6 separate regions of the Homo sapiens genome follow, and all the other regions are linked to region 4. Evidence: promoter capture Hi-C in 16 types of primary human blood cells and fetal thymus (Javierre and others, 2016). All regions are on one chromosome and are shown on one strand. Each heading gives the region's core, a stretch centred on a gene start or on the middle of the fragment in contact. The rest is flanking DNA. Distances are from core to core; before and after follow the strand shown. Region 1 overlaps YPEL3-DT (YPEL3 divergent transcript). Region 2 has its middle 15 kb from the start of ALDOA. Region 3 holds the start of PPP4C (protein phosphatase 4 catalytic subunit). Region 4 holds the start of FBRS (fibrosin). Region 5 holds the start of CDIPT (CDP-diacylglycerol--inositol 3-phosphatidyltransferase). Region 6 holds the start of INO80E (INO80 complex subunit E).

The links. Contacts are between HindIII fragments. The CHiCAGO score rates a contact against its expected background, and 5 or more counts as called.
Region 1: a contact is called between a fragment that was not itself captured here and the fragment with the promoter of FBRS in region 4, in 2 of 17 cell types (fetal thymus and erythroblasts). The highest score is 7.2, in fetal thymus.
Region 2: a contact is called between a fragment that was not itself captured here and the fragment with the promoter of FBRS in region 4, in 2 of 17 cell types (fetal thymus and naive CD8 T cells). The highest score is 9.8, in fetal thymus.
Region 3: a fragment that was not itself captured here is called in contact with the fragment with the promoter of FBRS in region 4 in 8 of 17 cell types (fetal thymus, naive CD8 T cells, total B cells and 5 more); the score reaches 18.1 in fetal thymus.
Region 5: a contact is called between a fragment that was not itself captured here and the fragment with the promoter of FBRS in region 4, in 1 of 17 cell types (fetal thymus). The highest score is 6.2, in fetal thymus.
Region 6: a contact is called between a fragment that was not itself captured here and the fragment with the promoter of FBRS in region 4, in 1 of 17 cell types (fetal thymus). The highest score is 9.9, in fetal thymus.

The regions. Positions count from the first base shown.
Region 1 is chr16:30,100,712-30,104,713 of GRCh38, forward strand. It overlaps YPEL3-DT (YPEL3 divergent transcript), which reads left to right. Exons shown (of 2, transcript NR_135192.1): 2 at 2,746-4,002. Among named protein-coding and RNA genes, the nearest start is that of YPEL3-DT, 6.3 kb to the left of the region's middle. The HindIII fragment of the contact is 297 bases long and covers 2,471-2,767 here.
Region 2 is chr16:30,048,718-30,053,068 of GRCh38, forward strand. It overlaps a transcript of TLCD3B not described here. Among named protein-coding and RNA genes, the nearest start is that of ALDOA, 15 kb to the right of the region's middle. RefSeq lists a silencer at 1-128. The HindIII fragment of the contact is 2,534 bases long and covers 688-3,221 here.
Region 3 is chr16:30,074,464-30,078,886 of GRCh38, forward strand. It overlaps PPP4C (protein phosphatase 4 catalytic subunit), which reads left to right and starts at 1,531. Exons shown (of 9, transcript NM_002720.3): 1 at 1,531-1,631; 2 at 1,852-2,012. The coding sequence starts at 1,915. RefSeq lists enhancers at 253-432, 2,055-2,144 and a silencer at 1,805-1,944. The HindIII fragment of the contact is 182 bases long and covers 2,113-2,294 here.
Region 4 is chr16:30,656,673-30,660,675 of GRCh38, forward strand. It overlaps FBRS (fibrosin), which reads left to right and starts at 1,759. Exons shown (of 18, transcript NM_001105079.3): 1 at 1,759-3,305; 2 at 3,591-3,770. The coding sequence starts at 2,847. RefSeq lists silencers at 1,175-1,434, 1,465-1,544, 1,595-1,774, 2,595-2,824, 2,895-2,944 and an enhancer at 2,025-2,474. The HindIII fragment of the contact is 16,259 bases long and covers 1-4,003 here.
Region 5 is chr16:29,859,571-29,863,596 of GRCh38, forward strand. CDIPT (CDP-diacylglycerol--inositol 3-phosphatidyltransferase) reads right to left here and starts at 3,656. Exons shown (of 6, transcript NM_006319.5): 1 at 3,245-3,656; 2 at 3,016-3,150; 3 at 1,536-1,689; 4 at 1,011-1,092. The coding sequence starts at 3,287. RefSeq lists enhancers at 1,083-1,621, 3,777-4,026 and silencers at 3,349-3,658, 3,669-3,728. The HindIII fragment of the contact is 2,733 bases long and covers 1,372-4,026 here.
Region 6 is chr16:29,995,392-29,999,410 of GRCh38, forward strand. It overlaps INO80E (INO80 complex subunit E), which reads left to right and starts at 850. Exons shown (of 7, transcript NM_173618.3): 1 at 850-1,000; 2 at 1,156-1,226; 3 at 1,417-1,469. The coding sequence starts at 920. It overlaps HIRIP3 (HIRA interacting protein 3), which reads right to left and starts at 226. Exons shown (of 7, transcript NM_003609.5): 1 at 150-226; 2 at 1-72. The coding sequence starts at 214. RefSeq lists enhancers at 574-743, 804-933. The HindIII fragment of the contact is 354 bases long and covers 1,522-1,875 here.

The DNA of each region.
Region 1 (4,002 bases), core at 1,369-3,868, 560 kb before region 4:
TTTCATCAGTGTAAACAAGGGGTTGGCTTTAGGGGTACTCACCCAAAGACACAGAGGCCACTGGCAGCCCATAGCCTTCCTGTCAAAAGTTCTTGACCCAGTAACCCACCGATGGCCCGAATGTGCCCAGTCTGTAGCAGCAACTGCTTTGCTAATGGAACGAAGCAGGAAAATAACCTTTGGGGGAAGCCTCATTGTATGTACCCTTCATCACGTTAGAACCATTCTTAATCAGAAGGCAGGAAGATAGCTCACTGACTCAAGGATTTTAAAATGTGAGGCTATCGGGTGGGTGTGGTGGCTCACGCCTGTAATTCCAGCACTTTGGGAGGCTGAGGTGGGCAGATCACAAGGTCAGGAGTTTGAGACCAGAGTGCCCAGCATGGTGAAACCCCCTCTCTACTAAAAATACAAAAAATTAGCCAGGCATGGTGGCGCACGCCTGTAATCCCAGCTACTTGGGAGGCTGACGCAGGAGAATTGCTTGAACCCCGGAGGCGGAGGTTGCACTGAGCCGAGATCAGCCACTGCACTTCAGCCTGGGCAACAGAACGAGACTCCATCCTCCACCCACCCCCCAAAAAAATTGAGGCTATCTTATTAGAGAGGGATGATTTAACATTGACCACTGGTAGTTCGCTCAACTCCGATGTTTTCCTAACAGGAAATCCGAACCGGGAGGAACCTGAGCATAAATGTTTAGATCTGATCAGTTATCAGACTAGAGTCAGACTGCATCTAAGCAAGACCCTGTTCCAAACTGGGCATTACCTCTTTATAGACGGCTCCTCTCGGGTAATTGAAGGAAGGAGGCATAACGGGTGCTCTGTAGTTGACAGGGAAACCCTCATGGAGGTAGAGTCAGGGAGACGGCCCAATAACTGGTTCACTCAAACATGTGAACTCTTTGCATTAAATCAGGCCTTAAAATCTCTGCAAAATCAGGAAGGAACTATTTACACTGACTCCAAGTATTTTGGAGTAGTCCATACCTTTGGAAAGATCTGGACTGAACGAGGCCTCATTAATAGTAAGGGCCAGGACCTTGTCTATAAAGAATTGATTATGCAAGTACTAGAAAATCTTCAACTGCCAGAAGAAATAGTGGTGGTCCACGTCCCAGGACACCAGAAAAACCCATCTTTTGAAAACCGGGGAAATAACCTCACAGATCAAGTAGCCAAGCAAGTTGCCTCTTCCTGAGAGGCACCCATTTTCCATCTGACCCCTTGCCTTCCCCTCCAGTCGCAATCCCCATCTTCTCCGACGCGGACCAAGAAAAGTTAAAAAGAATAGGAGCTAAGGAAAGCTCAGAGGGAAGGTGGGTATTACCAGACGGGAGGGAAATGCTGTCTAAACCTCTTATGAGGGAAATATTATCACAGCTTTATCAAGAAACTCACTGGGGTCCCCAAGCTATGTGTGACACAGTCCTCAAAGCCTATGGGTATATAGGAATCTCTACCCTCGCTAGTCAGGTGGCGGATAGTTGCCTAGTGTGCAAAAAAACTAATAAAACCCGAAGGAAGCAGCCTTTACTTTATCAAGGGAACCACCCCTATAATTGCCAATCCAACCAGTGCAACCCAGTACTTACCTCTATTACTACCCCTACCTCCACCGACCCTAACTCCACTCTAGGTTGCTTCTATGGCTTAGGAGCCGATGTTACTGGAAGGGACCCTATAGGCTTCTTTGAAATATGTTTTGTTCACCCTTCTCCACCTCCTACCGTCTCCCCCTCCCCAAGCCCACCAAATCAAACCATTCCTCACCTCTTACCCAATGACAAAACCAAAGTAGCTATAGTAGAAGTCAAGGACTTAAAGCAAACCCTAGCCATTGAGACCGGGTATCAAGATGCAAATGCCTGGCTGGAATGGATTAAATATTCTTTTCGCACCCTGAATAAAAGCGATTGTTACTCTTGTGCAGCGGGCAGGCCGGAAACCCAGATTGTCCCCTTTCCACTCAGATGGGCCAACCAACCAGGCATGGACTGTATGGTAGCTCTCTTCCAGCACACCACAGCCTGGGGAAACAAGACGTGCGCCACTCTTTCACTACGTTTCCCAAAGATCAGGAGCCCTACGGGTCAGCTCCCAAGGACCATTTGACTTCCACCTCTCAATGCCAGTTACACCTTGTGTCTCCCACAACAGGACAAATTGACGTTCCTTGGAAATCTAATGGGAGTCTAAACCTTTTCAAGAGCTAACCAATCAGTCAGCCCTTGTCTATCCCCGAGCAGATGTATGGTGGTATTGTGGACTGTTACTGGGTACGCTGCCAAGCAATTGGAGCAGCACTTTTGCTCTAATCCAGTTGGCCATCCCTTTCACCTTGGCATTTCATCAACCAGACAGGAAGCAAGTAACCCAAAGAAAAAGAGAAGCCCCTCGTGGGCCTTTGACCCCCATGTTTACATAGACAGTAGCAGGGTCCCACGGGAGCTACCAAGTGAATTTAAAGCTTGGAATCAAATAGCCGCTGGGTTTAAGTCTGTTTTGTTCTGGTGGTCTGCTATAAATAAAAATGTAGACTGGATAAATTATATATACTACAGCGAGCAGCGATTCGTCAGTTATACCAGGGATGCCATCAAAGGAATAGCTGAACAATTAGGCCCCACCAGCCAGATGACCTGGGAAAATAGACTAGCCCTTGACATGATATTGGCAGGAAAAGGCAGAGTCTGTGTCATGATCTGAGTCCAATGTTGTACTTTTATCCCTAATAATACAGCCGCCGACGGGACCATCACAAAAGCTTTACAAGGCCTTACCACCCTGGCAAATGAATTAGCCGAAAATTCTGGACTAGATAACCCTTTTATGGGTCTCATGGAAAAGTGGTTTGGAAAATGGAAAGGACTCCTGGCTTCAATCTTTACCTCTCTTGCAATTGTAACAAGTGTACTTATCCTTGTGGGCTGCCGCATCATACCTTGTATTCGTGGGTTAACTCAAAGGCTCATAGAAACAGCCCTCACTAAAGCCTTCCTCTCTTCTCTCCCTCCATACTTGGACAAGCTCTTGCTCCTGGATAATCAAGAAGAACAACGAAGCCAAATCCTGTTAAAATTTTTTGCAGAGGAAGAAGTATCAAATAGAAGAGAGGAAATTGTTGGGACAGCTAAGCTCTTCAAAGACTCAACTTCCTGGTCATAAACTTCTCCCCGTTTTTCTTCTTTTTCGCCAGTCTACCCTGTTTGGGAAAGTTTAAACCTTAGCCAGTCGGGATCAGCTCAGATTGTGCAGTCCATCCCCAGTCAATGGGGAAAGGACACAGAAACAGGAACTGCGTTAGGGTTAAAAAGCCCTTCTCTCCTTTGTTTGGGGTGCTCTTGCGATTACAAGCTGCGCAAGTAGCACCGTTCTGAAGTAAAGATGCCTTGCTGGGAAATCTGTCTCAGTGCTGGTTTTTCTTGACTACACTGAGCACTTGTTTCCAACACCCCTGTGCTCCAGGCTGGGTTAGGTCTGATCTCAGGGAATGTCTGTTTCAACACGTGTCTGCAGTTCTTTGGCTTGTGTTGCTCACTGCAGTGGGCCCAGCCTGGTCTAGAGGAGGCGCTCAGGAAGTATCTGTGAAATGTGAATGTGTAGTTCCTTCAGTGAATATGGCCCTGGGGCTGAAGATGGCAGAAGCATTCTGGGAGCTTCTGGAGAAGGAGACCTGGGAGGAGAAGGTTGGAATGGCGGGGGCAGCAGAGGGGCTGGGTGAACTCAGCTGTCCCACCCAGGCCCATCCTCTGCAGCCCGAGAAGGAAGCTCACAGGGCAAGACATGGAAGAGATCAAGTTCCCTGCCCGGTGCCTGGGCTGTTGATGGCCTCAGGAAAATGGAACCATTACCTGTTGCTGTCAAGTGGCTGGGGGCCAGGATGCCTGGGTTGGCCGTGAGAGGACATTGCTGAGGAGAGTGGAGGCCAGGCTGGGGTGGGGTGTGGCAGGAGGACAGGAATGCAGTGGAACCAGTGGGTCAGGCTCCTGAGGGCCCC
Region 2 (4,351 bases), core at 705-3,204, 610 kb before region 4:
TGCCTCAGCCTCCCGAGTAGCTGAGATTACAGGCATGCACCACCACGCCCAGCTATTTTTTTTTCTTTTTGGGGGCGGAGTCTCTGTCTGTCACCCAGGCTGGAGTGCAGTGGTGCGATCTTGGCTCACTGCAACCTTCACCTCATGGGTTCCAGCAATTCTCCTGTCTCAGCCTCCCAAGTAGCTTGGATTATAGGCACCTGCCACCATGCCCAGCTAATTTTTGTATTTTTAGTAGAGATGGGGTTTTGCCATGCTAGCCAAGCTGATCTCAAACTCCTGACCTCAGGTGGTCCGCCTGCCTTGGCCTCCCAAAGTGCTGGGATTACAGGCGTGAGCCACTGCACTGGCCTAAAGGTTTTTTTCGTTTTGTTTCCAACTGGGCCATTATTATTTCCAACCTATAAGATGGAAGTAATTGTTTCTGCCACTCGTGCCTCCTGTAAGGATTAAGTAAGATAAAGTCTGTGGAGAGGCCTCTGTTGACACCAGCTCTAGCTCAGCACTGCTTCTTTATTCCCCCAGGGTAATTACCTAAACACAAGCCTTTCATTTTATACTAAGGAGGCTGGTGAACCTCTTCTTAATCTCTGGGAGATGATATCGTTGGATGTCCATTGGAGGCAGCTGAAAGTATTAGATCAGAATCAGAACTGCCAGGTCCCTTCCCACGTCCAAGCCTGCTGAAGCTTCTTTCATCTTCTGGGAACTCTGCATCTCTGATCTCCCACCCACCCCACGATTATTGGAAGTATACAATCCTGTCTGCCCTTTCCTAGGGGAAGTGCGGAACTACATATGATACATCTGACATCTCCAGCTTCCAACTTCGGGAGAGGAGACTTTGCGGTTAGCTGGCTATTGTGAAGTCAGTTTTTCTCTGCCCCCAGCAAATGTTGTGATGTGGATAGAAGTGGGGCCTCGGCACAGCCAGGCGCAGTAGCTCACATCTGTAACCCAGCACTTTGGGAGGCCGACGTGGACAAATCACAAGGTCAGGAGTTTAAGACTAGCCTGGCCAACATGGTGAAACCCTGTCTCTACTAAAAATACAAAAATTAGCCGGGCATGGTGGCATGCGTCTGTAATCCCAGCTATTTGGGAGGCTGAGATAGGAGAATCACTCAACTTGGGAGGCAGAGGTTGCAGTGCGCTGAGATCGCACCACTGCACTCTAGCGTGGGCAACAGAGCAAGACTCCATCTCAAAAAAAAAAAAAAAGAGAAAGAAAAGAAATGGGGCCTTGGCAAAGTGGGGTGCATACATCATCCCTTGTCTTGGCTTGCCTGGCAACACACAAGCCTGGGGCACTGCCCGTGCTCCTGCATAATGTATGAGCCCATGGTAGGAACAAAACACCAGCACCAGCGAGTCTGGGCACTGCAGGCCACGGACGTGTCCAGGGGCCTTGCCAAGGCTGAAGTCTCTCTGTTGGCAGAATATGCAGAATATGTGTTCCTGGAGGCCTTTTGTAGGGCTGAGGTGAGAACTGGCCTCAACTTGGTCCTCAGGATTCCATCAGACAATAAGACCGCCCAAGGCCGGGCACAGTGGTTCACGCTTGTAATCCCAGCAATTCGAGAGGCTGAGGCAGGAGGATCGCCTGAGCCCAGGAGTTCAAAAACAGCCTGAGCAATACAGTGAGACCCCGTCTATACAAAAAATTTTAAAAATTAGCTGGGTGTCGTAGCATGCACCTGTAGTCTCAGCTACTTGGGAGACTGAGGTGGAAGGATCCCTTGAGCCAGGAGGTCGAGGCTGTTGTGGTGAGCCATGATTGTGCCATTGCACTCCAGCCTGGGCTACCGAGTGAGACTCTGTCTCAAAAAAAACAAAAACAAAAACAAAAACCGGAAGACAGCCTAAGAAGACAATCTTCTTTAGGATCAATAATGGTGACATTAGCAACAGCTAGACTTCTGTTTTCTGGGCTTGAAACGCCCTCTGAGAGGGCCAGGGGTGGCCAAGAGGGTGGCTGAGACCACCTCAGTATGGTTGACAGTGGGAGGGAAGATTTGGATCCAGGGACACAGCCCCTGGCAGTTTCCGTGGCTGCCTCATGGTGTAGGAAACCCCAGGAGCAGCAGCTGTGGTGAGGTATGTTGGGGTGGAGAACATGGACAAAAATAGGTATATGGTGGCATTGTTTTTAGGGGAAAATGCCAGGATTCAGCCATCGTTTAGGAAGTCGGAGGCCTCCATAGAGAGGGGTGCTTGTGTGAGCGTGCATGTGTGGGTGTGTGCAAGTGTCTGTGTGTGTGTGATCTAAAAAGGTTAGGAATGAAACGGGGAGGTCTGAGTGCCTTGAAAGCCAAGGAAATTAGGACGTGTGGAAAACAATGCTTCATTCGTGGATGGTGTTTGGTTTCAATTCATTCATAGAATCAGTGAGTATTGGCTGAGTGCAGTGGCTCTGGCCTGTAATACCAGCAACCTGGGAGGCCGAGGTGGGAGGATCATTTGAGGCAGGAGTTGGAGACTAGCCTGGCCAACATAGTGAGACCCCATGTCTACTTTATTAAAAGAAAAAAACAGGCCAGGCGCAGTGGCTCACACCTGTAATCCCAGCACTTTGGGAGGCCAAGGCGGGCAGAACACCTAAGGTCGGGAGTTCGAGACCAGCCTGACCAACATGGACAAACCCCGTCTCTACTAAAAATACAAAATTAGCTGGGCATGGTGGCACTTCCAGCTACTCTGGAAGCTGAGGCAGGAGAATTGCTTGAATCCAGGGCGGAGGTTGCAGTGAGCTGAGATCACACCATTGCACTCCAGCCTGGGCGACAAGAGCAAAACTCCGTTTCAAAAAAAAAAAAAAAAAAGAAAAGAAAAGAAAAAAGAAAGAAAGAAAGAAAAAGAATCAGTGAGTATTCACCAAGGCTCCCAGGGCTAGGCCAAGTACTAGAGCTCAGGATACGGAGATGACTCAGACCAGGCCCCAGACACTTGCAGTCTAATTGTGGAGCCAGACATGGAAGTGAGGAATTCAAGTATCTTGTGAGAAGTGCGAGAACAACAGTATCTGTAGGATGCTGTGGGAATTCACAGTCCAAAGCAGCCACCTCTGCCTGAGGTTGGCAGGGAGACCTCACAGAGGCAAAACTGAGGACGTGCTTGAGGGATGAGGAAGAGGTTTGAGGGGAAGACAGAGGGTGTTCCAGGCAGAGGGATCAGCAACTGCAAAGCTGTGGAAATGTGAGACCCTACACACTGGTTCAGGAAGCTTCAGCAGATCCTACTGAAGGTGGCTTATGCCTGTAATCCCAGCTACCTGGGAGGCTGAGGCTGGAGGACTGCTTGAGCCCAGGAGTTCAAGACCAGCCTTAACAACATAGCAAGACCACATCTCTAAAAATTCAGAAAAAAAGGCTGGGCACAGTGGCTCATGCCAGTAATCCTAGCACTTTGGGAGGCCAAGGCGGGCGGGATTGCCTGAGGTTAGGAGTTCGAGACCAGCCTGGCCAACATGGTGAAACCCCGTCTCTACTAAAAATACAAAAATTAGGTGTGCGTGGTGGCAGTCGCCTGTAATCTCAGCTACTCGGGAGGCTGAGGCGGGAGAATCGCTTGAACCCAGGAGACATAGGTTGTAGTGAGCCAAGATCACACCATTGCACTCCAGCCTGGGAGATGAGCGAAAATCTGTCTCCAAAAAATAAATAAATCAATTAATAAATAAATCAGTAAAAAAGAACCGGGCCCGGCGCGGTGGCTCACGCCTATAATCCCAGCACTTTGGGAAGCTGAGGCGGGCGCATCACTTGAGGTCAGGAGTTCGAGACCAGCCTGGTCAACATTGCGAAACCCTGTCTCTACTAAAAATACAAAAATTAGCCGGGTGTGGTAGTGCGCGCCTGTAATCCCAGCTACTCGGGAGGCTGAGGCAGGTGAATCACTTGAACACGGGAGGCGGAGGTTGCAGTGAGCCGAGATCGCGCCACTGCACTGCAGCCTGGGCGACAGAGCGAGACTCCGTCTCAAAAATAAATAAATAAATAAATAAATAAATAAATAAATAAATATAAATAAAATATAAAAAGTAGCATTGATGTTTACAATATCCCTGAGCGGCAGGCGTTTCTCCCTTTTGCAGATGCTCAGTGGCTTGGCCGGAGATACATCCAAGTGGTGGGTGTAGCCTGGGGGTTCAATCCTCCTGTGGCGCCCCAGAACCCGGTGCCTCCTCCAACGTCCGGCATCTGATGAGGATCCGACCCAGGCGGGCGGCGGCGGGATTCGCTCTTCCCCTTCGCTCCCCGCGAGAAAGCCCCGAGGGCCGCGGCGGCGCAGAGCCGGTGACAGTTGAAGCTTAGGCGGGAAGAGGGAGGCGCGAGGCGGGAAGAGGGAGTTT
Region 3 (4,423 bases), core at 954-3,453, 580 kb before region 4:
TGCAGTGAGCCGAGATTGTGCCACTGCACTCCAGTCGGGGTGAAAAAGCAAGACTCCGTCTCAAAAAAAAAAAAAAAAAAAAAAAAAGAGGCCGGGCACGGTGGTACACGCCTGTGGTACAGCACTTTGGGAGGCTGAGGCAGGTGGATCATGAGGTCAGGAGATCGAGACCATCCTGGCTAACACGGTGAAACCCCGTCTCCACTAAAAAATACAAAAAAATTAGCCGGGCCTGGTGGCGGGCGCCTGTAGTCCCAGCTATTCAGGAGGCAGAGGCAAGAGAATGGCGTGAACCCGGGAGGCGGAGCTTGCAGTGAGCCGAGATGGCGCCACTGGACTGCAGCCTGGGCGACAGAGCGAGAGAGTGAGACTCTGTCTCAAAAAGAAAAACGGAAGCAACTAAGAAATGTCAAGAGTGCCATTTTGGAATCAGAGAAGTCATGCTGACTGAGGCACAGGCTTGGCGTGGGAAAAGTGGACTCCAATCTGTTAACTTCTGAAGTTGTCCACGGCAAATATTTCTCTGACGGCACAGGAAGAGATCTGAACTTGGCTTCCCTCATCCATTGAACAAGTATTAACAAGTATCTATATATGCCTACCGTGCCAGGCCTTATTCTAACCACTGGGGCTGCAATATTTAAAAAGACAAAGTTGGATCCTCCAAGGACTGTGGTGGGGAAGGCTGACAAAACAAGTAACAAAAATGTGTAACATTAAAAAAAAAGTGTAATGTTAAAAAAAAAAAGTGTAATAAAGTTACAAAGCCTAGCCCCAGCTCGGCTTGTTTCCCTAGCTGAAATGGGGGATGGCCGGGCGCGGTGGCTCACGCCTGTAATCCCAGCACTTTGGGAGGCCCGAGGCGGGAAGATAGCTTGTGCCCAGGAGTTCGAGGTCACAGTGACCTATGATAGCCCCACCGACTCCAGCCTGAGCGATAGAGCGAGACCCTGTCTCTAATTTAGAAAAAAGAAAGTTGTGGCCGGGCGCGGTGGCTCACGCCTGTAATCCCAGCACTTTGGGAGGCCGAAGGGTGGTGGTGGGTGGGGGCGCGGATCACCTGAGGTAGGGAGTTAGAGACCAGCCTGACCAACATGGAGAAACCCCGTCTCTATTAAAAATACAAAATTAGCCCAGCGTGGTAGCGCATGCCTGTAATCCCAGCTACTCAGGAGGCTGAGGCAGGAGAATTGCTGGAACCCGGGAGGCGGAAGTTGCGGTGAGCCGAGTTCGTGCCATTGCACCCCGGCCTGGGCAACAGCAAAACTCCGTCTCAAAAAAAGAAAAGACAGTTGTTTAAACATTTTTATGAAATGATATGGGAGGGGACTGGTCTAGGGTTTCTAATAGCCTCCACATCGCCCAGCGGCAGAGCCCACAAAACTGCCACTGGCCGCCACCGGGTTCCTCCACCTCCTTCCCGATCTCAGGCTGGAGAAGTGGTGCAGGGGTCGCTGCGAAAGGAGAGGAGCGTGTATGACGCCACATCCGGCGCGCGGCGGAACTGGCCTCCTTTGCTTCCGCGGCGGGGCCGGAAGTAGGAGCGGCGGCGGCGGCGGCGGCGGCGGTCGAAAGCGGAGTGAAAGAGGGAGGCAGGGAGCCGGAGAGCCGGAACCGGAGTCGCAGCGGCGGTAATAGTGCGAGACTCCTCTAAGTCACCGTCCTTAGCGCGGGACCGCGGGGTTCGACGGGAGTTAGCGGGGGTGCGGCCAGGCCGTTGGACGCCGGGGGGTCCTGGGGCCGATGTGAGGGGAGGCGGGGGTGGGGGAGCCGGGCCGGCTCTAGAATCGAGTTGTCCGCTCCGAGCCCCGGACGGACACTGATCCGCGGGCTCGTCTTGGCCTTTCCCAGGAGACCCCTGTGCGGTGCGGAGGGGGCGGCGGCCCCGACTCTGACCCGCGCCGGGGGTGGGCCATGGCGGAGATCAGCGACCTGGACCGGCAGATCGAGCAGCTGCGTCGCTGCGAGCTCATCAAGGAGAGCGAAGTCAAGGCCCTGTGCGCTAAGGCCAGGTGAGCTCGTTGGCCCTGGGGAAGGGAGGCCAAGCCGCCGCCCACGGGTTCTGGCCTGGGGCAAACCCAACTGAGAACTTTGGGCTTGCCTCGTTCTGGAAGCTTTCCCAGAGAGGAGCAGGATGGAGCCGCTGCCCTCGAGGAAAAGCTAGCCTGCTCGGGGAAGACAGAGTGGATAAAGACACTTAAAGTTTATTAGACGATGTGTTTCCAGTGGAGTAAGAGTGTTACATAAAGTACTTAGGAAACTCAAGGAAACAAGTCCATCTGTCGGGGGACGGAAGCTTGTTGGAGGGGGGCCGAACTGTGGGAGAGGCCTCGAATAAGGAGGTGGTAAAAGAGTCAGCCAAAAACCAAAAGTTTAAGACAGGAAAGTTAAAGACCCTGTGATTTATAAAAGTCTTCTAATTACAACAACCCTTAAAGATTGGTGGTATTGTACTCATTTTACAGGTGGGAACTTTCATGTTCAAAGTTACCCACAAGTAAGGAATGGGGTCTGAAGCCAGCTCTTAGTGTCCTGTCCTTTTTCAGGCCATAATGCAAAAAGGTGGAGTTGGATCATTCACGTTCAGGGTGGGAGCCTGAGAAATCGTAGCAAGTAAGCCAGGGTAGAATTAAGCACGATAGGGAGGCCAGTTCAGAGTTCTGTGGGAAGTAGGATGATGTAGTGGTTAAGGCTCTAGGTTTTGCAGTGTGAGATGGCTCTAGGTTTGAATCTGAACTCTGCCGCTTTCTAGCTGTGTTAGTAATCTTAAGTGTCTTTATTTGTAAAGCAGAATTAATAGTACTTAATAAGATGATTGTGAAGATTCAGTGAGTTGGTGCTGGAGATGAGGTTAGCACAGTGTTTTGGTACAGCATACGTGCTTGATAATCACCAGGTATTCTATTTCTTTTGGAAGAGGGCAATAATGAGATGGGCTAAAGCCATCAGGGAGGGCTTTTGAGTGGAGGTAGGCCTTGAAGGATGAAGATAATTTGGCTAGCTGATGGAGGCAGGGCCAGTGAGGGAAGGGCATTCCAAGCAGGACGAATGTAACAGTGGAGGCCCTGAGATGCGTGGGGAACAGTCAGGGGTTTAATTACCTGCCTCCTCTGGGGAACTGTGTGATTGTGGCTTCTACCAGGCTGGAGAATTGTGGCAGAAGAGCCCACAGAATTACCCTACGTTTATTGAACAGTAAACATTGGCCTTTACAGGGCCACTATTTGGCCTGGCCCGGTACTGGCAAAAAACTTCTATCCATCTCTTCCCCCCAGCAATCCTATGAGGTTGGAATCATTTGCTGCATTTTATCGAATAGGAAGCCATGACTCGTAGAGGTCTGGTGACTTAACTGAGGTCACCCACTGAGGACGTGGCAGAGCTGGGTCCTGAATCTGTGGCCCTCAGGCTCTTTGCCTGGCCCTGCCTCACATAGACTACCTGCAGCCAGACAGGGCCTGTGAGGGGATGATGAGCAGGGTCGGCCTCTTTTTCGCCACCTGTCTGTGGCTTTTCTCTTTTGCCAGCTGACCAGACCAGCCCCATGGTGTTTTTAGTTGTCCCCTTTCCCTCAGTCCTGATTGGCATTTTTAGGAACTTAAACCTGTTGTTGCCTGGCACTATTCTTTAACCTCGAAGTATTGTCTCCCTCACGGGCCCTGGATCAGTGTGGTGGTGATGGTAGACAAAGCTTAGATAGCATGCTGGAGTTTGCAGAATAGCAGGAAGTCGTATATTCAGTCTCCATGGCTCCTTGCAACAGCCTAAGGAATACGCAGGGTGGGCTGAGTACTTAGCCCCATTTCATAGCAGAGGAAACTGAGCCTTTGAGTAGATAATGTCTTGCCCAACATCACGCAGCTAGTCGGAGGGGAAGTTAGTTTTGCATCCAGGTCTTTGACTGTGCTCCGTGGTCACTGAGAGCCAGGCAGAGGCATTTAGATTTTGATGTGGGGTGTGAGGCAGCAGGAAGCCATGGAAGGCTGAGGGGTGGAGGGTCCTGCCCAGTTGAAACTGAGTGGAACTAGGAGGTACTAGGCCAAGGCCTGAGTTGGCCGCTGTTGTCCCAGGCTCAGTCTGAAGCAGGGCCATCTCTGATACCTGGTTATGGCCTCCTGGGGACCCATCAGAGACCCAGGCTGAGGCTGGTGGTGTCAAGAGCACCAGCTTGCCTAGAGGGCACAGACATGCAGATGAAACCAGTGGAAGCACAGAGGTCCGCAGTGTCTGAGCTGAAATTGCTGCTACTAGAAATATTAGCACAGTAGGAGAGCTGAGCTTTTGAATCAGGTGGTCTTCAGTATGAATCTTTGCCTTGTCACCTAGAAGCAATATGACCCTCGTCAAGTCACTTTCTGATTTTTTGAAGTGATAATGACATGCAGTTGAGAGTCCGGGTATCCGGGCACAGGGCCTGCTGCGC
Region 4 (4,003 bases), core at 509-3,008:
AACCTCTGTCTCCCTCATTCAAGCGATTCTCCTGCCTCAGCCTCCCAAGTATCTGGGATTACAGGCGTGCGCTACCACACCCGCTAATTTTTGTATTTTTAGTAGAAACTGGGCTTCACCATGTTGGCCAGGATGGTCTTGAACATCTGACCTCAGGAAATCCGCCTGCTTTGGCCTCCCTAAGTGCTGGGATTACAGGCATGAGCCACCATGCCCGGCCTAGAGATACTCTCTTGCTTAGAGGATTCTCCTGTGTGGAGGGACACTTCTGAATCAGTGCCAGATGATACTGTGACCCTAGACCGTGGTCTGGGTTCTCCCAATTCATTTATATCAAGGAGACTGAAAGGCCTATAGTGGGTCAAGGCCTTGAAGATCAAGATGGCCCTGAATTCCTGCTAACATGCAGGCCAGGACCTGCTGCTGGATTCAAGAGCTACGGCTAGGCCAGGTGCGGTGGCTTACGCCTGTAATCCCAGCGCTTTGGGAGGCCGAGGCAGGTGGATCACAGGAGCCTAGGAGTTCGAGACCAGCTTGGCCAACATGGTGAAACCCCGTCTCCACTAAAAATACAAATATTAGCTGGGTGTCTTGGTGTGTACCTGTAATCCCAGCTACTCAGGAGGCTGAGCCAGGAGAATTCACTTGAACCCGAGAGGCAGAGGTTGTAATGAGCTGAGATCGCACCACTGCACTCCAGCTTAGGGAACACAGCCAGACTCTGTCCCCCCCAAAAAAACAAAACAAAACAAAGAGCTAAGAGTAATGGGCCATAATGAAGCACTCACGACGACTGTCATAGGTGCTTGACCTGCACATGTCCCTGCGACAGGGAATTAGTCATTTTATGGACGAGAAAGCAAGGCAGGCATGTCAGCGCGCTGTCCACTTTTAAAACGGTAACCCGGGCAACCGAAGGCCAGAAATGGCTGTCTCTTTTTTTTTAAGCCAGTCACATTGAGCAGTGGGGTGCATCTTTCATAACTGAGAGGCATCACAGGGCAGTGGCTGACATAGACGTGGCTAGGAGACTACCAGCCCGTCTGTGCGCGCATTCCTTTCCGTCCCAGTAAAATGGGGCTGACAGCATCTCCTTCATGGAATTATTACCAAACGCAGTCACAAACGCGGAGAAGCGCTCATGCAGGTGCAAGGCGTTTTCGAATTGCTAGCACTCGGGACCGCTGCCAGCAGCCGCGCCTGGAAGGGACGCGGCTGCCTGTTAGTGCGGCCGGCGCAGGCGCAGGCACAGCACGCGGCCGCTCGGGCCACCCCGGGCCGCGGAACGACTCGCAAGCAGCCAGCCTGACGGCGGCGCCGCCACGCGCGTGCGCGAGACGCCAGGCTGTCTGTGGGCCGCGCCGAGCGGCGGAAAGGCGGCGATGACTTAACTGGCTGTGGAACGGAACCTCTTGCAGCCGCGCGCCCCCCGGCGGCCAACCGCCCCCAACGCCTCAGGCCCCGCGTCTCCGCCCCTCGCCTCGACGCCATCAGGAGACCGGCCAATAAACAAACAGCAGGAAGAGGCGGGGCCCTGTAGTAACCGCCCCAAACACCTACTTCTAACCAGTCGAGTCACAAGACTGGGGGGAAGGGCGGAGCCAATCCGACGTAACCCAATCCAAGATTTGAGGGCGGTTACATGCACCCACTCCCTCGGGTTTGGCTCCGCCCCTCACCTTGACGTAGCCCTCCCAGCCTATCAACGACTGCGCCCGTTGGGGGTGAGGGGAAGGGGGCGGAGCGTGGGAGGAGGCCGAGAGAGGAAGGAGGCGTAGGCTGAGGAGGAAGAGGGAGGAGGGGTAGGGAAGTCCTGGCGGAGAAGCGCCCTAAGACTCCAAAGGAGACAACAGGAGTTTGTGCTGGAGCTCCCCCGCTGCCCATCGGCCGTTCCGGATCCCCTAAGGCCCAAGTCGGACAGAGACGGAGGAAAGGAGGAAGAGACTTTTATGTCGGCGGACAGGGGAGCTGTACCCGTCACCGTTGCCTCACATCCGGGGCTTTGGAGGGCTGGCCTCGCTGCCCCGCCCCGCCTCGCGCCTTTCATGGCGACCGGAGGCGGAGGCTGGAGGAGCTGGGCCCGGAGGAGGCCCCTTTAAATCTCCTTAAAGGGGTGGCCACTGAACTCGGCGGACTGCAACGCCAGCCTTAAAGGGGAAGCCGCCGAGCAGACGCTGACAAATTGAGAACTGTGCCGTTGGGAGAACTGGGGCGAGTGGGGTTTTTCTTTACGTCCTCCTCCCCCACACACAAGAAGTCTTTTAAATTCAACTTAAAGGGGAAGTGGCCGCTTGTGGAGGACTAGAAACTAACTCCGAGCCCTTAAAGGGACGGCCTGCTGTTAGAAGGACCCTGGACTCCTTAAAGGGGTGGCCTCTTTGAGCCGGAGGACTTGAGACACTTTTAAAGGGGAGGTCTGCGTTTCGGGGCGAGCTTTCGGCCCCTTTTAAAGGGGTGGCCCTTCCTCTTCCTCGGGGAGACTTGCATCGACCCCTGGCAGGGGGTGGCCACCGCACTAGGCCGCCGGACACTGTCGGGTCGTCTTAAAGGGGCCGGGAGCTGGACAACTTGGGGCCTCGCCTTAAAGGGACGGCCGCCCCGTTTTCGCCGTCGCGGCCCCGCCGAGCCCGCAGGGGGGGCCCTCGGGCTTGTCGCCCCGGGGGCGGCGCCGGCTCCCCGGGCCGTGGCCTTGGGGCAAGCTCGGGGCCAGCAGATCCGGCTTTAAAGGAGAAGCCGTGGCCCTCTCGTCACTGTGCAGCCGCCAGCGCCGCGCCTGCGACCCCGGGCCTGCGGACAGGCCGCTTCGGGCCCCGCCGCCTCCGGATGCGGCGCTGAGGGCGGTCGCCATGGAGACGGCAGCGGCCGCGGCCCCGGGTCCGGGCTGGGCAGCAGAGGGGGAGCGCCGACGGCGGCGCTGCTCGCGCCGAGACCGAGACCGGGAGCAGCGGCGCCGCCGAGGTCCAGGCGGCGACGCGCCCCGGGCCCTGTTGGCCGCCCCGCGCGGCTCCTCGTCCTCGTCGTCGCCGCCGCCGCCCGCCAGGCCTTGGTCGTCAGCTTCGTCTGGAGAGCGGCCTGGGGGCCCGAGACGCCGGCGGCCCCGTCCGAGACCTCGACCCCCGCGACCCCGAGCTCGGAAGCGGCCTGCCGGCTCGGGCAGCCGCGGGGAGGAAGAGGAGGAGGAGGAGGAGGAGGGGGGCGCAGACGACGGCGAAGCCGAGGAGGAGCCTGAGGAGGAGGAAGAGGAGGAGGAGGACTTGATCGATGGCTTCGCCATCGCCAGCTTCGCCACCCTCGAGGCCTTGCAGGTGGGGCCTAATGGGGCTAGGAGACTTTGGGGGTTTCCGAGGGGCAGCAAGGAGGGGGCAGTGCCCCTAGTGGGTGGAGTTGAGGGGGGAATGCTGGCACCCCAAACCAGAGCAACCGGCTCCTCTGGCCAGGCCTCTGCCCCGCCCTGGGGTGGGAGGAGGTAGAGCTCGTCTCTGGGGACCCGGTTTCCCGGCCCGAGGGGTACTTCGGCAACCTGGTCACCCCTAGAGGGGTTGGGAGCTTGCCCTTTTCCATCTATCTCAGCCCCACCTCCTCCTCCACAGAAGGATGCATCTCTTCAGCCCCCAGAGCGACTGGAACATCGGCTGAAGCATTCTGGGAAGCGGAAAAGGGGGGGCTCCAGTGGGGCCACCGGGGAGCCAGGGGACAGCTCTGATCGAGAGCCTGGCCGGCCCCCTGGGGATCGGGCCCGAAAATGGCCCAATAAGCGGAGAAGAAAAGAGGTGAGGTTGTCCCTTAAAACTCTTTAGGCAGAATGTATTTCCCACAGCCCCGTTTTTCATCAGCAACGCCACTGCCCCTTGTAAACAGAGACCCCAGTTTCTAAGGGCAAAGAGGCAAGCAGGGCAAATTTGAGCCCTTACTCATCCGGGTCTGACGAAGGCCTGTCTACAGTCAGGTGCACCTCCTTTTGCCTGGTTCTGTGTCTACTTCAAACGTTTTGATAATTCAGAGA
Region 5 (4,026 bases), core at 1,488-3,987, 800 kb before region 4:
CACCCCCTGCCCCCCCAGCACTAATGAAGGCACAATCTCGGCATATTACTTCTCTTATTTTTTTTTCTTTTTTACAGACAGGGTCTCGCTCTCTCATCCAGGTTGGAATGCAGTAGTATGATCATAGCACTGCAGCCTCAAAACTCCTGGTCTCAGCCAGGCGTGTGGCTCATGCCTGGAGTCCCAGCACTTTGGGAGGCTGAGACAGGCGGATCACCTGAGGTCAGGAGTTTGGGACCAGCCTGGCCAACGTGGCGAAACCCCTCTCTACTAACAATACAAAAATTAGCCGAGTGTGGTGGCACGTGCCGGTAGTCCCAGCCACTCAGGAGGCTGAGGCACAAGAATCGCTTGAACCCAGCAGGCAGAGGTTGCAGTGAGCCGATAACCCGCCACTGAACTCCAGCCTGGGTGACAGAGCAGGACTCTGTCTCAAAAAAATAAATAAATAAATAAATAAACCCTTGGTCTCACGCAATCCTTCCACCTTAGCCTCCTAAGTAGAGACTACAGGCGTGTACCACTGTGCCTGGCTAAGCTAATTCAAGATTTTGTGTGTGTGTGGAAACAGAGTCTCACTTTGTTGCCCAGGCTGGTCTCAAACTCCTGGCCTCAAGCAATCCTCCCACCTCAGCCTCCCAAAGCGCTGGGATTACAGGCATGAGCCACCATGCCCAGCCATTATCTTTTTAAAAATCCTTCCAGAGGCTGCCTGTGTTCCTGGAATCAAGTCCACACTCCAGCCCTGCAGACCTCTCTGGCTTATCTCCCTTCCCGCTTTCAGTCCCTTCTCTTTGCAGGCCTCATTCCCACTTGTTCCCTGGAGTAATTCACACAGGCCTTCCCCACCAATCCTCCTCCTCCACGCCTCAGCTTACGGGCCCTCCTCCTGGAGTGACTGGGCAGGCCCTGCTCTGCGCCCTCGCCTTCTCCTAGGCTAGGACCAGGATTCAGCCCAGGGCTTCCCACAGCCAAGAGCCTGAGGGGTGGGGTGTGCAGGAAATGCTTACCCTCGAGGTGTAGTAGATCCGAAGCACCGGATTCCCGGACAAGTCGATCATCTTGTGACTCTCACTGCCTCGGACCACAGAACTTGGGGAGAAAACAGGGGAACCCACAAGGTTTCATGACCACTACCATGCATCCAATCCTCATGTTAACACCTATTGTACAGATGGAAAACTGGGCACGGCTAAGGACCAGTATCCTGCCGAAAGCCACAGTTACCTATTTGGGGGCAGAGTCAGGATTCAAATGCCACATTTGAAAGCTCCCATGCCCCTTCCTATAAGCTGTCACCTATATGGAATCCTAGAATACCCAGCCAGAAGAGTCCTAAGAATTGCTTAATGCAACTGTAAACATGACTGAAGCTTTAAAGAGAGGCAGGTTTGCCTGGGGTCTTTCTACAAAGCAGAGCTAAAAAGGAGCCCTTCCAGGATGCCTAGTGCCATCCCAGACACCCTTCCGTCTAGGCTCAGCCCACCCCACTGTAATGTCTCCAAGTGGCCCAGGCCCCCAGAATCGCAGCAGACCTGTGGAGGTGCAGCCAGTGACTGGCCACATCCAAACTCATGCTGATTTGGAAGAACAGCGTGGCTCCAGGGTACAGCAGGGCCAGGTTGACCAACAGGCACATGGTGGAGCAGCGGTCCGTCAGCATGTCCAGCATGGCCCCAAACCGGGTTCCTGGAAGATTAGGTGGGCAAGGGCTGTTATGGCACAGTGGATGCAGGACAGGTGCCCATATTTGGTTTATCACTCTGACGCAGGGTGTAAACGAAGACTGGAAGTGTCCGCCTGCCTGGGGAGGAACGCAGGCTAGAAAACAGGCTGTGTGTGAGGTCAGTGGGCAAAGGTCACCATGGCATGAACTGAGAAAGGCATGAGAGTGGAGGGAACAGGGTAGGAGGAGAGGAAAGCTATGTCTGCAACTCATCAACCCCAGAACCAAGACTCCAGGGCTAGATAGAGACTTGATGCCTCAGGGGAAGCCTTACAGTTGGGTCTGGAGAACAGATTAAAAAATTAGTCAACCCTCCAGAAGCCATCACCCTTCCCTCTCCATCCTCCCTCTAAGCATGCCTTCTGGAACCCCAACTGCTTATGCAGGGCACACAGTAGGCCTCCAGTAAACACCTGTTGAATACACTGTTTTTTGTTTTTTGTTTTTTTTTTTCCGAGACAGAGTCTTGCTCTGTCGCCCAGGCTGGAGTGCAATGGCGCAATCTTGGCTCACTGCAACCTCCGCCTCCCGGGTTCAAGCAATTCTCCTGCCTTAGCCTCCCGAGTAGCTGGGATTACAGGCACGCGTCACCAAGCCCGCTAATTTTTGTATTTTTAGTAGAGACAGGGTTTCACCATGTTGGCCAGGCTGGTCTCGAACTCCTGAACTCGTGATCCACCCACCTCGGCCTCCCAAAGTGCTGGGATTACAGGCGTGAGCCACCGCCCCTGGCCTGAATGGACTTGTATTCAGAGAGACCTCCAGCAGCGCCACCGCCATGTCATGTCTTGCTAATCCACACCTCTCACAAGCAGTGAGTTCTCAAGAGCTAGCTTAAATTCCTTTTGCTACAAAATCAGTCCATTCTTGCTGGGCGCGGCACTTTGGGAGCAAGGCAGGAGGATCGCTTGAGGCTAGGAGCTGGGGACCAATCTGGGCGACACTGCAAGACCCAGTCTCTACAAAAATTTAAAAATTAGCCGGGTGTGGTGGCACGCTCCTGTAGTCCCAGCTAGTCAGGAGGCTGAGGTGGGAGGATTACTTGAGCCCAGAAGATGGGGGCTGCAGTGAGCCATGATCGCGCCACTGCACTCCAGCCTAAGTGACAGAGCGAGACCCTGTCTCAAAAACAAAAAAACAAAACACAAAACAAAAAGCCCCAGGCCATCCTGTTCTGCTTTTTCCAGAGATGGGAATGACAGCCCTCTGACTCTGAGGTCCCGAGGAGGCAGGGGAAGGGAGGAGGGGATTGTTGAACCCCAAGGCTGGCTGAGAGGGGTGTCTGTCACCTTGATTAAGAGCGCGAGCAGCGTGTCCATCGAAAGCGTCCAGCAGGCCGCTGAGCAGGTAGAAGGAGGAGGCCGTGAGGGGGCAGCAGGGCATGAAGTAGAAAGAAATGATGGCGAAGACAATCCGGGCATAACCTTGGAACGGGACGCGGGGAGACAGGGCAGGATCAGGGAGCCCGCCAAGGCCCCTCGCCCTCTCGTTCGGCCCGGGGCCGTGGGCAGCACTCACCGATGAGGTTGGGCACGAACAGGAAGATATTTTCGTCTGGCATCGCGGCGCCTCCCTTGCTGCCCCGGGCCTGCTCTGGAGATGCCAGTGCTGTCCCAGCCCCGCAGCGCGGCCTCAGCCTCCGGCCCGGCGCATCGGCCGCACCACCTGCGCCCTGGACCCCGCCGCCCCAACCTGGCCCCAGATGCTGAAGCCCGCAGCCGTCGGGAGCATGGACCGGCCCCGAGGTGCGCGGGACGCAGGGGGCGCGCGCAGTCCGCCCTTCCTACCCGCAACCTCCCTCGCCTCTGCCAGCCCCGCAGGCGCTCCGGGCCTCCAGCTGCGGTCGCCGCTGCTCCAGCTGCGCGTGGCTTCCGGGAACCTCCTCCTCCGCGCCCGTCGTTGCAAAATTGGAGAGAGGAAAAAGTGGCTTAAAAAAATAGTTGCGGCCCCTTTAAGGCCTGTCGGCTTCCTTTCCCTTTTCCTCCCTCCGCCCCTCTCCCTTGGCTCGTACCAAAGCGCAGAGGAGGAGAGGGAGGAAGGAACCATTAACGTCAAGCAAAGTTAGAAACGGAAAAGGAAAGGGTAAAAGAGAAGACCGAATAAAAATCTCTGCTTTCCTTTTGTGGAGGGTATGACTTCCTGGAGGCAAAGATAAGGCGATAAAATTCCTCCTCCTGAGTCTTTGCGTCCCCAAGAGGCCAGGAGATTTGGTGCAGTCCTCACTTTACTCCCCGCCCCCTAAGTCTCCAGCCGCCTTTGCTCTCGCAGGCTCTAGGCGGCTAGAGAGGCTCCAGAGCGCC
Region 6 (4,019 bases), core at 449-2,948, 660 kb before region 4:
TCCTCGGGCTCCAGGTGGCTGCGGCCCGAGTGAGCTAAGTACCTCCGCCGCACGATGGAATGCGTAAGCGTGCTGCAGGGACATGGTGTCAGGACGGAGTCCCGACCCACCCGCGCCCTTTCCAACCCCATCTCCAACCCCCTGGGCACCTGAGGTCCGGGCGGCCTCGGAAGAAGCTACGGGTGAACTCCTGCATCTCCTTCTCCCGCGCCATTTTGCTCAACCCGGGATTGACGGCTCCCGCCTTTTTTTCTTCTCGGCCTCCGTCAGCGCGTTTGACAGCGGCTCGCGCACGCGCAGTGCTGCGGCAACGTGGGGCGAGGGACCGTTGGCCCTTGGCCGCGGACCGCGTGGGCCGAGAACTTTGCCAGACGAGACTTGTTTTCTCTGGGCAGTTGGAGGGTCTCGCGGCTCCTACCCTTTTTTGGAACGGATCATTTTAAAAGTTCTCGTTAGAAACCAATTCGGCGCCGGCACCCTTTGGGTGAAACCTAATCAGCCCGCGACGCTGCCTTTCTCACTGGTCACGGGCAACAGCTAGGCTGCTGTTATTTCGCAAGGCAGAAGAGAAAAGGCATCCTCGCGAGCAGATGAGGAACCTCGGGGATAAATCCTTTTGTGGCTTCAAGTGTCTAAGTACATTAGAGTCAGGAACGGCGCTTTCCAGCGTCCGCCATTTTTGTGGCGTCACCGCGTCGCTGCTACGCCATCCCCAGCGCAGTGGCTGCCGCGCTCCTGTCCCAGTGTCCCCCGGGAGGTCGGCCCGTGCGGTGACGCCCCTGAGCGCGGGGTACGCCGGGAGTTGTAGTCCTGACGGCACAGCCTTGCAGCGTCTCCGGAAGTGGAGGCGGGAGCGGCACGGCAGCCACTGCTTGGGGTAGCGGGAGGGCAGACTCTGGGCGCCACTCCCGGGCCGGTCATGAACGGGCCGGCGGACGGCGAAGTGGACTACAAAAAAAAATACCGGAATCTGAAGCGGAAGCTCAAGTTCCTCATCTACGTGAGTGCTGCCGCGGGAAGGCTGTGGGGGATGAGGCCTGGCGCGGACAAGATCTCAGTTTACCCAGGTGTAAAGTGGGTGGGGCGAGCGGCCGCTGGTTCCGGGGCCCTTCACGGAGGACCGTTGGCCCAGCGCACCCCTTGCCCGTGATACAGGAGCACGAGTGCTTCCAGGAGGAGCTGAGGAAAGCGCAAAGGAAATTACTGAAGGTGTCCCGGGACAAGAGGTGAGGCACGTTGCAGGGGCGGAGGGCGATGTGCTTCCTAGGAAATCTACATTCGGACCCCATCCCCGAGTAGGGCCACAAGTGCATGGGCTCTTTCAAGTATCCGATGGGCCAGCTGGGAGGGACAGGTACCCAGGAGGACATTGCTGCGCTGGAAAATCACTGTCCGTGTCTCCTTCCCTCCCCTCAGTTTCCTCCTAGACCGACTTCTGCAGTACGAGAACGTGGATGAAGACTCTTCGGGTGAGCAAGGTCTTCAAAAATTGGTGGAGAGCATGGTTCCTGGTACTTAGCAAGCTTCCTGGGCCCCCGCCTTTTAGGCAGTGGTGGCTGATGCAGCCCCCAGTGGTCCTTAAGCCTAGTTGCTTGCCTTCCACCTCCACCGTTCTTTCATTCAGGCACTTACTGAGCACCTATTGTGTTTCAGGCACTGTGCTTGGCACAGGGGATACAGCAGAGGCAGAGATAGGCAAAGCCCTTGGCCTCTTGTAATTTATATTCTAGTTGGGAAGAATAAGTAAATGAAGACAATAGACTAGAATTTTAGGTCATAGGAAGGACTTGAAGGTAATGAAAACAGTTATGCGGTAATGATTATAGTAGAACAGGGGTTGATGAATTGTTTCTGCAAAGGGCCAGATGGTAAGTAAGCTTTTTGCAACATACAATCTTTGAAGCACCTACTGAACTCTGCCATTGTAGTAGCAGCCGTACCCCATAGGCAAATACATGAGTATGGCTATGTTTCTATAAAACTTTATAGGCACTGAAATTTGAATTTCATATTTTTCCATATGAAAAATTTTTCTTTAGTTTTTTTTTTTTCCAACCGTTTAAAAGCTTAAAAGCCATTCTTGGCCAGGTGCAGTGGCCCACGCCTGTAATCCCAACACTTTGGGAGGCCGAGGTGGGCGGATCACAAGGTCGGGAGTTCAAGACCAGCCTGACCAACATGGTGAAACCTCGTCTCTACTAAAGATACAAAAATTAGTCGGGTGTGGTGGCGTGCACCTGTAATCCCAGCTACTGGGGAGGCTGAGGCAGGAGAATCATTTGAACCCTGGAGGCAGAGGTTGCAGTGAGCCGAGATCGCTGCCACTGCATTCCAGCCTGGGTGACAGGGCGAGACTCCGTCTCAAAAAAAAAAAAAAACGCCCTTCTTAGCTTGCAGACCACACAAGCAGGCAGCAGGCAACCTCTGAATGGAGTACTCAAGAAAGGCCTTTCACAGAGTGACATTTGAGTTGGGACCAGAGAAGAAACCAGCCTTCCATCCTGGGCAACATAGTGAGACCCCATCTCAATTAAAAAAAAATTAGCCATGTATAGTGGTGTATACATGTGGTCCCAGCTACTTGGGAGGCAGAACCAGGAGGATCCCTTGCCTGAAAGGTCAAGGCTGCAGTGAGCCATGATAGCACCGCTGTGCTCCAGCCTGGGTGACAGAGCAAGACTGTCTCAAAAGAAAGAAACCCCATCCTGGCTAACACAGTGAAACCCTGTCTCTACTAAAAATACAAAAAGTTAGCCGGGGATGTTGGTGGGCACCTGTAGTCCCAGTTACTCGGGAGGCTGAGGCAGAAGAATGGCGTGAACCTGGGAGGTGGAGCTTGCAGTGAGCTGAGATTGCACTACTGCAGTCCAGCCTGGGCAACAGAGCCAGACTCCATCTCAAAAAAAAAAAAAAAACAAAAACCAATCTTGTGAAGAAGTGGGCTAGAGCTGTCCCGGCAGAATAATATAAATGCAGCTACCCTGAGGTAAGAACAGGTCAGGCTTGGTTGAAGAGCAGAGGCATGAAAGAGAGAGAACACTGTTTTCGTCCTTTTATTTGAATATTGTCTGCAGTTAACTATATTTTACATCATAACCAGGGCCCCACATGTTAAACAAAACAAAGTTTAACGAAACATTTTTAAGATCACTGTATCCAATTCATCCTGACACTTTTTAGACTGCTTTTTTCCCCTTCTTTTAATGCTGGTTGCAAACCAATAAATTGATTTCATGACCCACTAATGGCTTGAGACCCACAGTTTGAAAAAGCCCTAAGGTAGGCATTTGTGGGCCTCTTCCTGGGTGAGGCCCTCGTAAGCCATGTCACGTAGAATCACCTCTCTCCGTGGTGCCTTTAAACATTGGTCTGGGCCGGGCACGGTGGCTCACGCTTGTAATCCCAGCACTTTGGGAGGCCGAGGCAGGCAGATCACGAGGTCAGGAGATCGAGACCGTCCTGGCTAACATGGTGAAACCCCGTCTCTACTAAAAATACATAAAATTAGCTGGGTGTGGTGGCGGGCGCCTGTAGTCCCAGCTACTCAGGAGGCTGAGGCAGAAGAATGGTGTGAACCCGGGAGGCGGAGCTTGCAGTGAGCCGAGATTACGCCACTGCACTCCAGCCTGGGCAACAGAGCAAGACTCCGTCTCAAAAAAAAAAAAAAGCACATTGGTCTGAGGCAGGGATTGGCATGTGGCAGCCAGCCACGTTTTAGGACGTAGTGTTTTGTCAGAACGCATGATACCCATTTGCTTGTTATTATAGGAGGATTGTAGATAAGGTTGGGGAAATAGGCAGGGGCCCACTCAGGTAGGTCATAGTAGGAGATTTGGCTTTTATTGTAGCCTCTCATCCCCTGCCTCTTCCTTCCCTAGGGGCTTCCAGTTAACATCCTGTTTGAGGGGAATTCAGGGCAGGAGGTGGGAGAGAACCCAGCATGTTCATGGCCAGAGTGGGTTGCATCTGAGGAGGAAGAGCCAGCGATGCGAGCCCCACTCCCGTCCTGGAGGCCCACG